Regions from separate parts of the Homo sapiens genome. Here region 2 is linked to region 1. Evidence: promoter capture Hi-C in 16 types of primary human blood cells and fetal thymus (Javierre and others, 2016). All regions are on one chromosome and are shown on one strand. Each heading gives the region's core, a stretch centred on a gene start or on the middle of the fragment in contact. The rest is flanking DNA. Distances are from core to core; before and after follow the strand shown.

Region 1 (5,024 bases), core at 1,725-4,224:
AACTAATACTTTCTTGGGAGACATACCTAATGCTGTTTCCTCATTAGCTACATTGCACTGTGACACATTTGCCCCCAGCGTATCTGCTTAACTTCCTTATCACAGCTCACAAAAACTTTACTACCCTACTAACCAAGATAAAGCATATTTTTACTAAACATTACCACTTCAGTCTTGGCAATAACCCGCTATGAAAAGCACCACTGAAGTTCAAAATAACTTTCTTCACTGGAATAACAGTACATATATTTACACAATATCCAAAGATTCAGAGGAGTCACTTAGAACTGATATTTTAGAGTAAATAAAAATCTAATTTAAAGAAAATGGTTACTGTATTTCCAATATTTTGTTACATGAACAATTCCAGTCCCTGAGCTTGAATAACCTAGAATTCACCTAATATTCTTCAAAATCAAATAGTTATGGCCATAAATTCACAAGGAACTGTAAAGAGTACAAAGCCACATCTTTACCTCTTAGGTAGCTTACTAGCTGACAACGTGTTTCTCATTTGGGGACCCCTGAAAATTATTTTTCCTTTTAAAAAAGCCTGTAACTCTTAAAAAAGATAAATAAAAAATAAGTGAGAACACACGGTGCTTGGTTTTCTGTTCCTGCATCAGTTTGTTGAGGATGATGGCTTCCTGCTCCATCCATGTCCCTGTAAAGGACATGATCTCATTCTTTTTTGTGGCTGCGTGGTGTTCCATGGTGTATATGTGCCGCATTTTCTTTGTCCAGTCTACCACTGATGGCCATTTGGGTTGGTTCCATGTTTTTGCTATTGTGAACGGTGCTGCAGTGAATATATGCGTGCAAGTGTCTTTATAACAGAATGATTTATATTCCTTTGGGTATGTACCCAGTAGTGGGATTGCTGGGTCGAATGGTAGGAGAACGTCATATAATTTCTACATGCCAAGAAATAGTATTCTTCTTTTCATTTGTTTTCCAGTCATTTAGAAATGTAAATATTATTCTGGGCTCTCAGGTTGTAGAAAAACAGGTAGCTAACCGTTTTGTGCTCTTGGGCCAGAGATTGCTGACTCCTGGTTTATAACGAGATGCTATGAGAATTAATGACTTAATCATTGTAGAATACATTTCTCTTTATGGAATAAAAAATGTTATGGATGCATAAGTAGCAGTAGGTATATAGATACGTATTAAATTAGCAAAAGATGCCCTTATAATGGTCAGATTCACAAATCATGCCACATCTACAAAGAGAAGACTGATACGACTTTTGCTAATGGAACTGGTTCTATATGTGCATTTCATTCTTCACAATAAACTCAAGAAACTGAAAAAATAAAATAAAATAAATAAATAAGCCTGTAACTCAAATTAAAGTATAAGAAACACTGCTCTAATTGGAAAAGAAGAAATCACGGAAATGCCAATGTCGCCTGGGTGTTTGCCAACAGCTACTACCTCCCAGTTAGGACTCTTCACACACAAACGCCCCGAAGGACTCTGGCAATACAAGTGTGTAGCAAGTGCTTTTTAACATATAACCATCCTTTTATGAGACAGCTGTCAGGATATGAAGTTTTATCCCTTGTTGGGGGGTCGGGGGAGGAGGAAAGGATTCTTTCCAGAACAGGTGTGCGTATGCGTGGGAGGGAGGAGCTGAATGGGGAGGAGGAAGAGGCACAGTATGGTTAACCGGAATGTTCAAGGAGTGCTCTGGCGACTGTGGACAGAGCAATCTGTCCAGGGCACTCAAGTGTTTAAGGAAATGACAAGTTCAGAGAGGCAAGGTGATTTGGGACCAGACTGAGGACTTCTGCTCCAAGACCAGGGGAAGGAGTTGAACCTTATTCTACCGCTGAAGCTTCTGTTTTCCTTATTTTCAGATCAAGTGATGTGATAGAGGAAACGTTTTAAAAGATTTATCCGGGTGCAAAGTCCAGATGGGCTGGAGGGTGGAGAGACGGATAGGAACAACTTAGGTTACTATAAAAGTCCCTGATGAGATAAGGACCCAAACTAAGATGACATAAACATTCCTTTCAAAGAGGGTGTACCCCTTAAAAATTCATAAGCCACCTTTTATTGAAAGTGAACTCATCACTTTCAAAATCTTGTGACATCTCCATCATATATTTAACCAAGAGTTATAATCTCACAGTTTGGTCACCCCCATGACCAAAACAAATAGACCGATGTTCTTGGTCAATGGATTATTTGGCTCCTCGAGTTGAAACCCTTCATTTTCTGGGCTGGTGACAGTCAGCCGGTTCTCCACACACAAAGGGCGTTAAGTGGAACCCCCGCCCCGGCTCCGCAGCGTCCCCGCGGATCTGCCCGCCTCGGGACGGCCACTCGTCTGCGAGGCCCCGACAAAGAGCGCGGAACCTGAGCCTCTGGCGAAGATCCTATTTCGAGCCCGACGTCCTGCTACAGTCTGCAATAAGCGCTCTCCGTCCAGCCGGCGACTCCGGGGGGGGGAGACTGGGGCGCCTGGCACGGAGCCAGCCCGCGTGGGCCGAGCGCGGAGGCGCCGGCTGGAGGCCGTGGAGTCCCTGAAGGCCTCCCCTCGCTGTCCTCCGCGCCCAGGCTCCCGGCTTGGTCCGGCAGGGACCTCGCGAAGCGGCCTCACACCCGGCCCTCCCCTCGCCTCAGCCGCCTGAGGGCCCGCGCGCGGCCCCCGCGCGCCCGCCCAGGCCCAAGCCCGGCCCCCACGGGCGCCTCCGCCGCGGCCTCGCCCGGCCCCGCCGCCGGCCCCTCGCTCTGCCCGGCCCCGCTCACCCAGAAGATGAGGTTGAGAAAGACCAGCACGGTCTTGGAGGAGGTGATGCCGCACTGGCCCATGGCGCCGGTGGCCCGCGAAGGCCCGGCCCGGAGAGCGGGGCTGCGCTCACCGAGAGAGCGGCAATGGCGGCGGCGCCTCCTCGCTAGGAACTGCACGGCCTGCGCGGCGCTCCCCGCAGCCCCTGCGCCGTCGCGCAGCCCCGACCCCAGCAAGTGCCTCGCTCCTCCGCGCAGCCGCCGCAGTCCCCTCAGGGCTCCCGCGCCGCTCCCTGGCAACCGAGTCCCGCCCCACGCGGCCGGTAGCTTCAGCCAATCGCCTCTGCGGAGGCTGCAGTGAGGCCACGCCTCTTAAAGGAGCCAAGGCCTCAGCGCCTTTTCTTGGCCTCTGGCCGCCCTTGGACGCAGATGGCTCCCTAGGGAGGTTCTGGTGGACCAAACCCACTCTCCTCCTATGACTATGCCACCCTTATAGATGATTCAGAGCCCTCTGAGTGCTATCTTTCTACCTAGCCCATTCTCCCCTAGGAAGGTTGGAGACACTAATCTCTGCCTGACCAGATTCTCCTGACCAGGTTAAAATCTTGGCAGCACTGTTGGTGAGAAGTGCAAAGAAAAACAACAAATACTTATGGAGAAACTTATTGTACCAGGCGCTGGGCTAGACCTCAGAAGAGTCAGAGAGGAGAAAAGGCTGGTGATGGCGTTAGCAAGGCAGAGACATGTTTGTGTGGGTGAGTGGTTGGGAACAAGTTCTATTCCAGGGTAGTAAGTTTTGGACCAAGATTCGCAACGATTACAGAAACATCTCTTTGCATTGCAACATTTCACATTCTTCCCCCAATCTTGAATCCGTCATAGCAATTAATTATTGGGTGCTCACCCGGTGCCAGGCTCCATTAGTTCATTTAACCCCCACCACAACCCTGGATGGAAGGCACTATGGTTATCAGCCTCATTTTACTGATCGGGTAATTGAGGCTTAGAAAGGTTAAGAAGTTCGCCCAGAGCCACACATAGTAAGTGGTCTAGTGCAAAAAACACATCATCAGTCACACAATAAACTGCCTCTGTTTGCTGTCTTTCCTGCCATTATAATCCTGCACTCCCTCCTTGACCGCGCCCGTAAGGATTTCCATTTACTGGTCTTTATCAGCTCGCTCTCATGCAATCTCCCCCACTCATCACCTTTCCCAGGCACTCTCAGAAGTACCTGTTAATCTCAGCATCCTGTGCATTTACACCAAGCAGCAGCAACAGCCATTTATTCACTCATCAAACTTGCCGCGTGTCCCCTCTGGGCCTCACTGTTGTCGGTGGTGGATATTCCACTGTGAGCAAGACGTATCCTTCCTTCCATGGCTTACATTCGTTCGGGCAGAGGAGGCAGACCATAAACAAACGGGCAAGTGGGTATATGACATGAGGTAGTGTTAGGAAACAATTCAGAGGAAAGGAATAGAGTGATGAGAGGAGTCCTCTCTGAGGAGAGAACATTGGAGGGGACCCAAGGGAGGTGAGGGGAACAGCCCAAAGATGAGAGCAGCAAGGACAAAGGCCCAGAGACCGGAACATGATCACTGTGCTGTAGGAAGGGGAACACAGAGAGCCTAGTGTGCTGGAGGTGAGCGAGGCCGGATCACCAACAGCCTACTACGCCAGGCAGAAGCCTTTGAGCAGACCAGTAACACCATCTAAGTGTTTCAAGTGCCATTCTTGCCATACCATGGAGGTCCTAGTTAAAGAAAGAAAAATGATGGGCTCTCAAACATGATTCCCTTTGAACATCTATCTTCTTGACGCCTCTGCCCTCTGTAAATTTCTCTGTCTGCTTTGCTCTGAGTGCTTTTCCTCCTTTTCCAAAACATCCCCTTTGCATTTCTTCATCCTCATCGTGTCCCTTCTCATTTCCCTGTGAAGGTCTCATCAAGTCCTTCTTGTGCCTTCTCCTTGAGTGGGTCTCAGACCCCCCCCCCCCCCACATTACAATCATCTGGGCCACACAGACAAACTCCATCAGATTCTCTGGGGGCGAGCCTCAGGGAATCAGGTGTTTTTCAAAAACACACCAGGTGATTCGAATATGCTGTTGGGGCTGCAAACCACAGTTCTGAGTTTACAAGCATGGTCATGCCTCTCCTATCCTAAAAAGAAAAGCCTCTCACTTAAACACCATGTTTTACTTTTTCTTTCTTCTCTTAGCCAAAGTTCCTAAAAGAGTCATCTCATCCAGTGCTTCTCAGACTTTGCCTTGCGCACAGATCACC
Region 2 (5,454 bases), core at 1,872-4,371, 730 kb before region 1:
GTTTATCCTGCGGGTGTCGCCCGACCTCGAGTGGCACGCGGCCTGCCTCAAGTGTGCCGAGTGCAGCCAGTACCTGGACGAGACGTGCACGTGCTTCGTGAGAGACGGGAAGACCTACTGCAAGCGGGACTATGTCAGGTGAGGCCGGCGGGAACGCGGGCTGGGCCACCGCGCGCAGGGGCCGGGGCCGGGACTGGGGATGGCGGCCTGCCCGCGCGCCCCGGCCCTGCCCAGGGAGAAGGCCATCCGCATCCCGCACGGGTGCCGCAGCGCTCCCCCGGGCCCGGGAATGCCCGCAGGCGGGTCACCGCAGTCTCCTGGTGGCCACAAAGTGTCCTGGGCGCGCGCCGGAGCCGTAGCAGCCAGGGAGATGAGGGCGGCCGCAGGCCCAGCGCTGACACCGCCGCACCTTGGGCCCGCAGGCTGTTCGGCATCAAGTGCGCCAAGTGCCAGGTGGGCTTCAGCAGCAGCGACCTGGTGATGAGGGCGCGGGACAGCGTGTACCACATCGAGTGCTTCCGCTGCTCCGTGTGCAGCCGCCAGCTGCTGCCTGGGGACGAGTTCTCGCTGCGGGAGCACGAGCTGCTCTGCCGCGCCGACCACGGCCTCCTGCTCGAGCGCGCCGCGGCCGGCAGCCCGCGCAGCCCCGGCCCGCTTCCCGGCGCCCGCGGCCTGCATCTGCCCGGTAAGCGCGCCGGGGCCTGTGCCGGGGTGAGCGGGGTGTATGTGCGTGCGTGTGTGTAGGGGTACGCTTGTGTCCCTAACGAGAAGTTGTCAGTTGTGTGTGGTTCCGTCTGCCGGGATAGTGTTTTTCTGTATCAGTGCGGAACTGTGTGCTGGGAACAAGGCTGTGTGTATTCTCGTGTGCTCGGGAGAAACTGCGTGTGTATGAGTGTGTGAGCACGGAGAATTGTGCAGAATCGTGTTCTCCATGACCAGGAACATGCAGGGCACAGTGCTAGGAGCAGAAGAGTGGATGACAACAGGGAATCTTAAGTGGTGTCCGTCTTGGGGCTTGTATTAGGAATTTCTTGGAGGAATATGTGTTATTGTCAGAGGGTAAGGTTTGCCCAGGGGTATGTGTGTAAGTAACACAGCTCCAAACTGGGAGCTGGGCAGGAGCTTGGTCAGCCAGGAGCCAAGAACCCAACAAAGAGGGGTTTTTGCCATCTTGTTTTGAGGCCCAGTTTGATGAACAATTTAGCCAGGTTCTTCTGGGGGAGGGGGAGTATCAATGCATAGTGGACTGTCACTGGAATATTCTGGGTCCTAATCAGCAGCTGCCCAGAGATGGGGTCTGAGTGTATAATGGGCAGGTACGGCTGAACAGAAACAGAGGTGCCTCCACCCCAGGCAAGGCAGTTTCCCCCAGGTAGCCATAGGCCTGCAGCACAGATCCGTAGACCAGGCTGGGCCTCTGGGTGCTGTGTGGCCTTGCCCCGCTCCTCCCCTCTCTGGATCTTCACTTCCTCCCTATAGAAAGAGGAAACTGGGCTGGATGGGCTATTTGTAAATATTTGTCCAGACCTAGAAATTCGTAGAGGGGAACATAAACCGAAATGGTGCAGTACAGATCCACGGTATATATGGGTCGGGATCAAATGGAGATGTGAAATGGGAGCAAGCGGGTATTCAGTGCACCCCCATCTGGGATCTCGGAGAGGCTCCCCTTTGTTTGTTTCGGGCTTCAGGGTGCAGGCTCTGGAATCAGTCACTGTTTCCCCGGGATGGAGAGAACCTGGGGCCAAGCGAGGAGAGTGCCAGCGGCTGCTCAGCACCTTGGTCGGTGGGAGGCCACTGGGCTGGGGAACCTGGAGCCTTGAGGAAGGAGACAGGGGCCGAAGCCCAAGGGCGGGCAGGAAGGAACTGTTGCAAGCCCTGGAGGCCCGTCCATAACCGTGGATGAGTCTTCTACACATGTGGCCTGGCCCTGTCCAAATGGGCTCTGAAGGAGGGGAAGGGCCCTCGTAGGCCCCCGGCATATTCGCACCTCCCACCCAGTCCCCTGGGCAGCGCCTCGCCCTGGGTCCACGTCGGTCCCTTTCCCTCTCCAGAGTCCTGGGCAAGCCTCTTTCCTCTTCCTCTGAAACTCCGACTTCTTCCGGAGGGCTTCGCTCGTTCCGAGGGTCCTGCGACTGGAGGAGGCACATCCCTGAGCAGCCACTCCCTCCCCGCAGCGGCCTGTCGCCGAGCTCCCGCGCCCTGCTTGAGCTCGGGAGAGATCGCTGCGGGGCAGTCCGGCCCGGGAGCGAGAGAAAGAACGAAAATGCACAGCTCTCTCCGAGTAAGGCGAACAGATGGAGAGGAAGACGAACAATTAAACGAAACAAACAGAATAAAACAGAAACGAAATCGGGCCCCGGGGGGCTGGGCCACCCGGAGGTTGGGCTCGGGGCGGGTGGGTGGCGGCCCCTCGCTAACCTCTGGCCTCACCCTGTCCTGGCAGACGCTGGGTCGGGCCGGCAGCCCGCGTTGCGCCCGCACGTGCACAAGCAGACGGAGAAGACGACCCGCGTGCGGACTGTGCTGAACGAGAAGCAGCTGCACACTCTGCGGACCTGCTACGCCGCCAACCCGCGGCCCGACGCTCTCATGAAGGAGCAGCTGGTGGAGATGACCGGCCTGAGCCCGCGGGTCATCCGCGTCTGGTTCCAGAACAAGCGCTGCAAGGACAAGAAGAAATCCATTCTCATGAAGCAGCTGCAGCAGCAGCAGCACAGCGACAAGACGGTGAGCAGCCGCTGGGCCGGAGGCTCGAGTCGGGTGGGGGCTGCGCTTCCGCCGCGGTATCTGCGTGCCCTTTTCTGGGCGAGCCCTGGGAGATCCAGGGAGAACTGGGCGCTCCAGATGGTGTATGTCTGTACCTTCACAGCAAGGCTTCCCTTGGATTTGAGGCTTCCTATTTTGTCTGGGATCGGGGTTTCTCCTTGTCCCAGTGGCAGCCCCGCGTTGCGGGTTCCGGGCGCTGCGCGGAGCCCAAGGCTGCATGGCAGTGTGCAGCGCCCGCCAGTCGGGCTGGTGGGTTGTGCACTCCGTCGGCAGCTGCAGAAAGGTGGGAGTGCAGGTCTTGCCTTTCCTCACCGGGCGGTTGGCTTCCAGCACCGAGGCTGACCTATCGTGGCAAGTTTGCGGCCCCCGCAGATCCCCAGTGGAGAAAGAGGGCTCTTCCGATGCGATCGAGTGTGCGCCTCCCCGCAAAGCAATGCAGACCCTAAATCACTCAAGGCCTGGAGCTCCAGTCTCAAAGGTGGCAGAAAAGGCCAGACCTAACTCGAGCACCTACTGCCTTCTGCTTGCCCCGCAGAGCCTTCAGGGACTGACTGGGACGCCCCTGGTGGCGGGCAGTCCCATCCGCCATGAGAACGCCGTGCAGGGCAGCGCAGTGGAGGTGCAGACGTACCAGCCGCCGTGGAAGGCGCTCAGCGAGTTTGCCCTCCAGAGCGACCTGGACCAACCCGCCTTCCAACAGCTGGTGAGGCCCTGCCCTACCCGCCCCGACCTCGGGACTCTGCGGGTTGGGGATTTAGCCACTTAGCCTGGCAGAGAGGGGAGGGGGTGGCCTTGGGCTGAGGGGCTGGGTACAGCCCTAGGCGGTGGGGGAGGGGGAACAGTGGCGGGCTCTGAAACCTCACCTCGGCCCATTACGCGCCCTAAACCAGGTCTCCCTGGATTAAAGTGCTCACAAGAGAGGTCGCAGGATTAACCAACCCGCTCCCCCGCCCTAATCCCCCCCTCGTGCGCCTGGGGACCTGGCCTCCTTCTCCGCAGGGCTTGCTCTCAGCTGGCGGCCGGTCCCCAAGGGACACTTTCCGACTCGGAGCACGCGGCCCTGGAGCACCAGCTCGCGTGCCTCTTCACCTGCCTCTTCCCGGTGTTTCCGCCGCCCCAGGTCTCCTTCTCCGAGTCCGGCTCCCTAGGCAACTCCTCCGGCAGCGACGTGACCTCCCTGTCCTCGCAGCTCCCGGACACCCCCAACAGTATGGTGCCGAGTCCCGTGGAGACGTGAGGGGGACCCCTCCCTGCCAGCCCGCGGACCTCGCATGCTCCCTGCATGAGACTCACCCATGCTCAGGCCATTCCAGTTCCGAAAGCTCTCTCGCCTTCGTAATTATTCTATTGTTATTTATGAGAGAGTACCGAGAGACACGGTCTGGACAGCCCAAGGCGCCAGGATGCAACCTGCTTTCACCAGACTGCAGACCCCTGCTCCGAGGACTCTTAGTTTTTCAAAACCAGAATCTGGGACTTACCAGGGTTAGCTCTGCCCTCTCCTCTCCTCTCTACGTGGCCGCCGCTCTGTCTCTCCACGCCCCACCTGTGTCCCCATCTCGGCCGGCCCGGAGCTCGCCCACGCGGACCCCCGCCCTGCCCCAGCTCAGCGCTCCCTGGCGGCTTCGCCCGGGCTCCTAGCGGGGAAAAGGAAGGGGATAACTCAGAGGAACAGACACTCAAACTCCCAAAGCGCATGATTGCTGGGAAACAGTAGAAACCAGACTTGCCTTGAAAGTGTTTAAGTTATTCGACGGAGGACAGAGTATGTGAGCCTTTGCCGAACAAACAAACGTAAGTTATTGTTATTTATTGTGAGAACAGCCAGTTCATAGTGGGACTTGTATTTTGATCTTAATAAAAAATAATAACCCGGGGCGACGCCACTCCTCTGTGCTGTTGGCGCGGCGGGAGGGCCGGCGGAGGCCAGTTCAGGGGTCAGGCTGGCGTCGGCTGCCGGGGCTCCGCGTGCTGCGGGCGGGGCGGGCCCGGTGGGGATTGGGCGCGGCCGAGGGGGTGGGGCTGGGCGCATGCGCGCTGAGGGCCCTCCCAGAAGCAGGAGCGCCCCATTGGCGACCCCTGGGCACCTGGCGGCCCAGGCCCGCGGGCAGGAGGCGGGACCCGTTTGGGCGGGAAACCTGCGGCACTTGTGGCGGTTGAGCGGCGGACTCCGGCCTAGGGTTATGCGGGCGAGGGCGCGCCCCGCTCCCGGAACCAGCCTTGGCCTGGCGCCTGCCGAGCCCCGAGCCCCACTCTCGCTCGGCGCCGCGGGCCCTCCCGGCGCTTCCTTCCCCAGCGGTCCGCGGCCCTGGGTGAGGCTCGAAGCCCCGCGCGCTGCCCCTGGCCCTGCAGCACAGCAGTGAGGCCAACCCCGGCCAGAGCGGGCGGCCGTGACGGGCCGTGCCCCGCGCTGTCCCCGGAGTGGATGCGCGACGTGATCAATCCGCGGCATTTATTAATTCCACAGTCTAGACAGAGGCGGGGGCCGGGCGGCGGCTGCTTATCTGCGTTTGGCATCACCTGCAAGCGATACACCGAGGGGCCGCAACGAGCCCCCGCTAGGAGCGCGGCTGCCGGGAAAATAAGTCCACCCAGAACCAGTCTGGCGTGTCCTTGGTTTATTTTCTTTCCAGACCGAAGTGGAGGGGGTCGGGGGTGGCCCGGGTGGGAGGGAGCTGGGAATGG

Evidence for each region. Contacts are between HindIII fragments. The CHiCAGO score rates a contact against its expected background, and 5 or more counts as called.
Region 2: a fragment that was not itself captured here is called in contact with the fragment with the promoter of TSPAN3 in region 1 in 1 of 17 cell types (monocytes); the score reaches 5.3 in monocytes.

What each region holds. Positions count from the first base shown.
Region 1 is chr15:77,068,135-77,073,158 of GRCh38, forward strand. TSPAN3 (tetraspanin 3) reads right to left here and starts at 2,975. Exons shown (of 7, transcript NM_005724.6): 1 at 2,758-2,975. The coding sequence starts at 2,820. RefSeq lists a silencer at 2,442-3,141 and an enhancer at 3,282-3,341. The HindIII fragment of the contact is 12,417 bases long and covers 1,839-5,024 here.
Region 2 is chr15:76,337,830-76,343,283 of GRCh38, forward strand. It overlaps ISL2 (ISL LIM homeobox 2), which reads left to right. Exons shown (of 6, transcript NM_145805.3): 2 at 1-138; 3 at 423-685; 4 at 2,447-2,730; 5 at 3,305-3,472; 6 at 3,890-4,646. The coding sequence ends at 4,006. LOC124903532 reads right to left here. Exons shown (of 1, transcript XM_047433420.1): 1 at 4,564-5,454. The coding sequence ends at 4,951. Among named protein-coding and RNA genes, the nearest start is that of ISL2, 3.8 kb to the left of the region's middle. RefSeq lists enhancers at 1-264, 1,812-1,881, 1,902-2,111, 2,309-3,064. The HindIII fragment of the contact is 7,335 bases long and covers 1-5,454 here.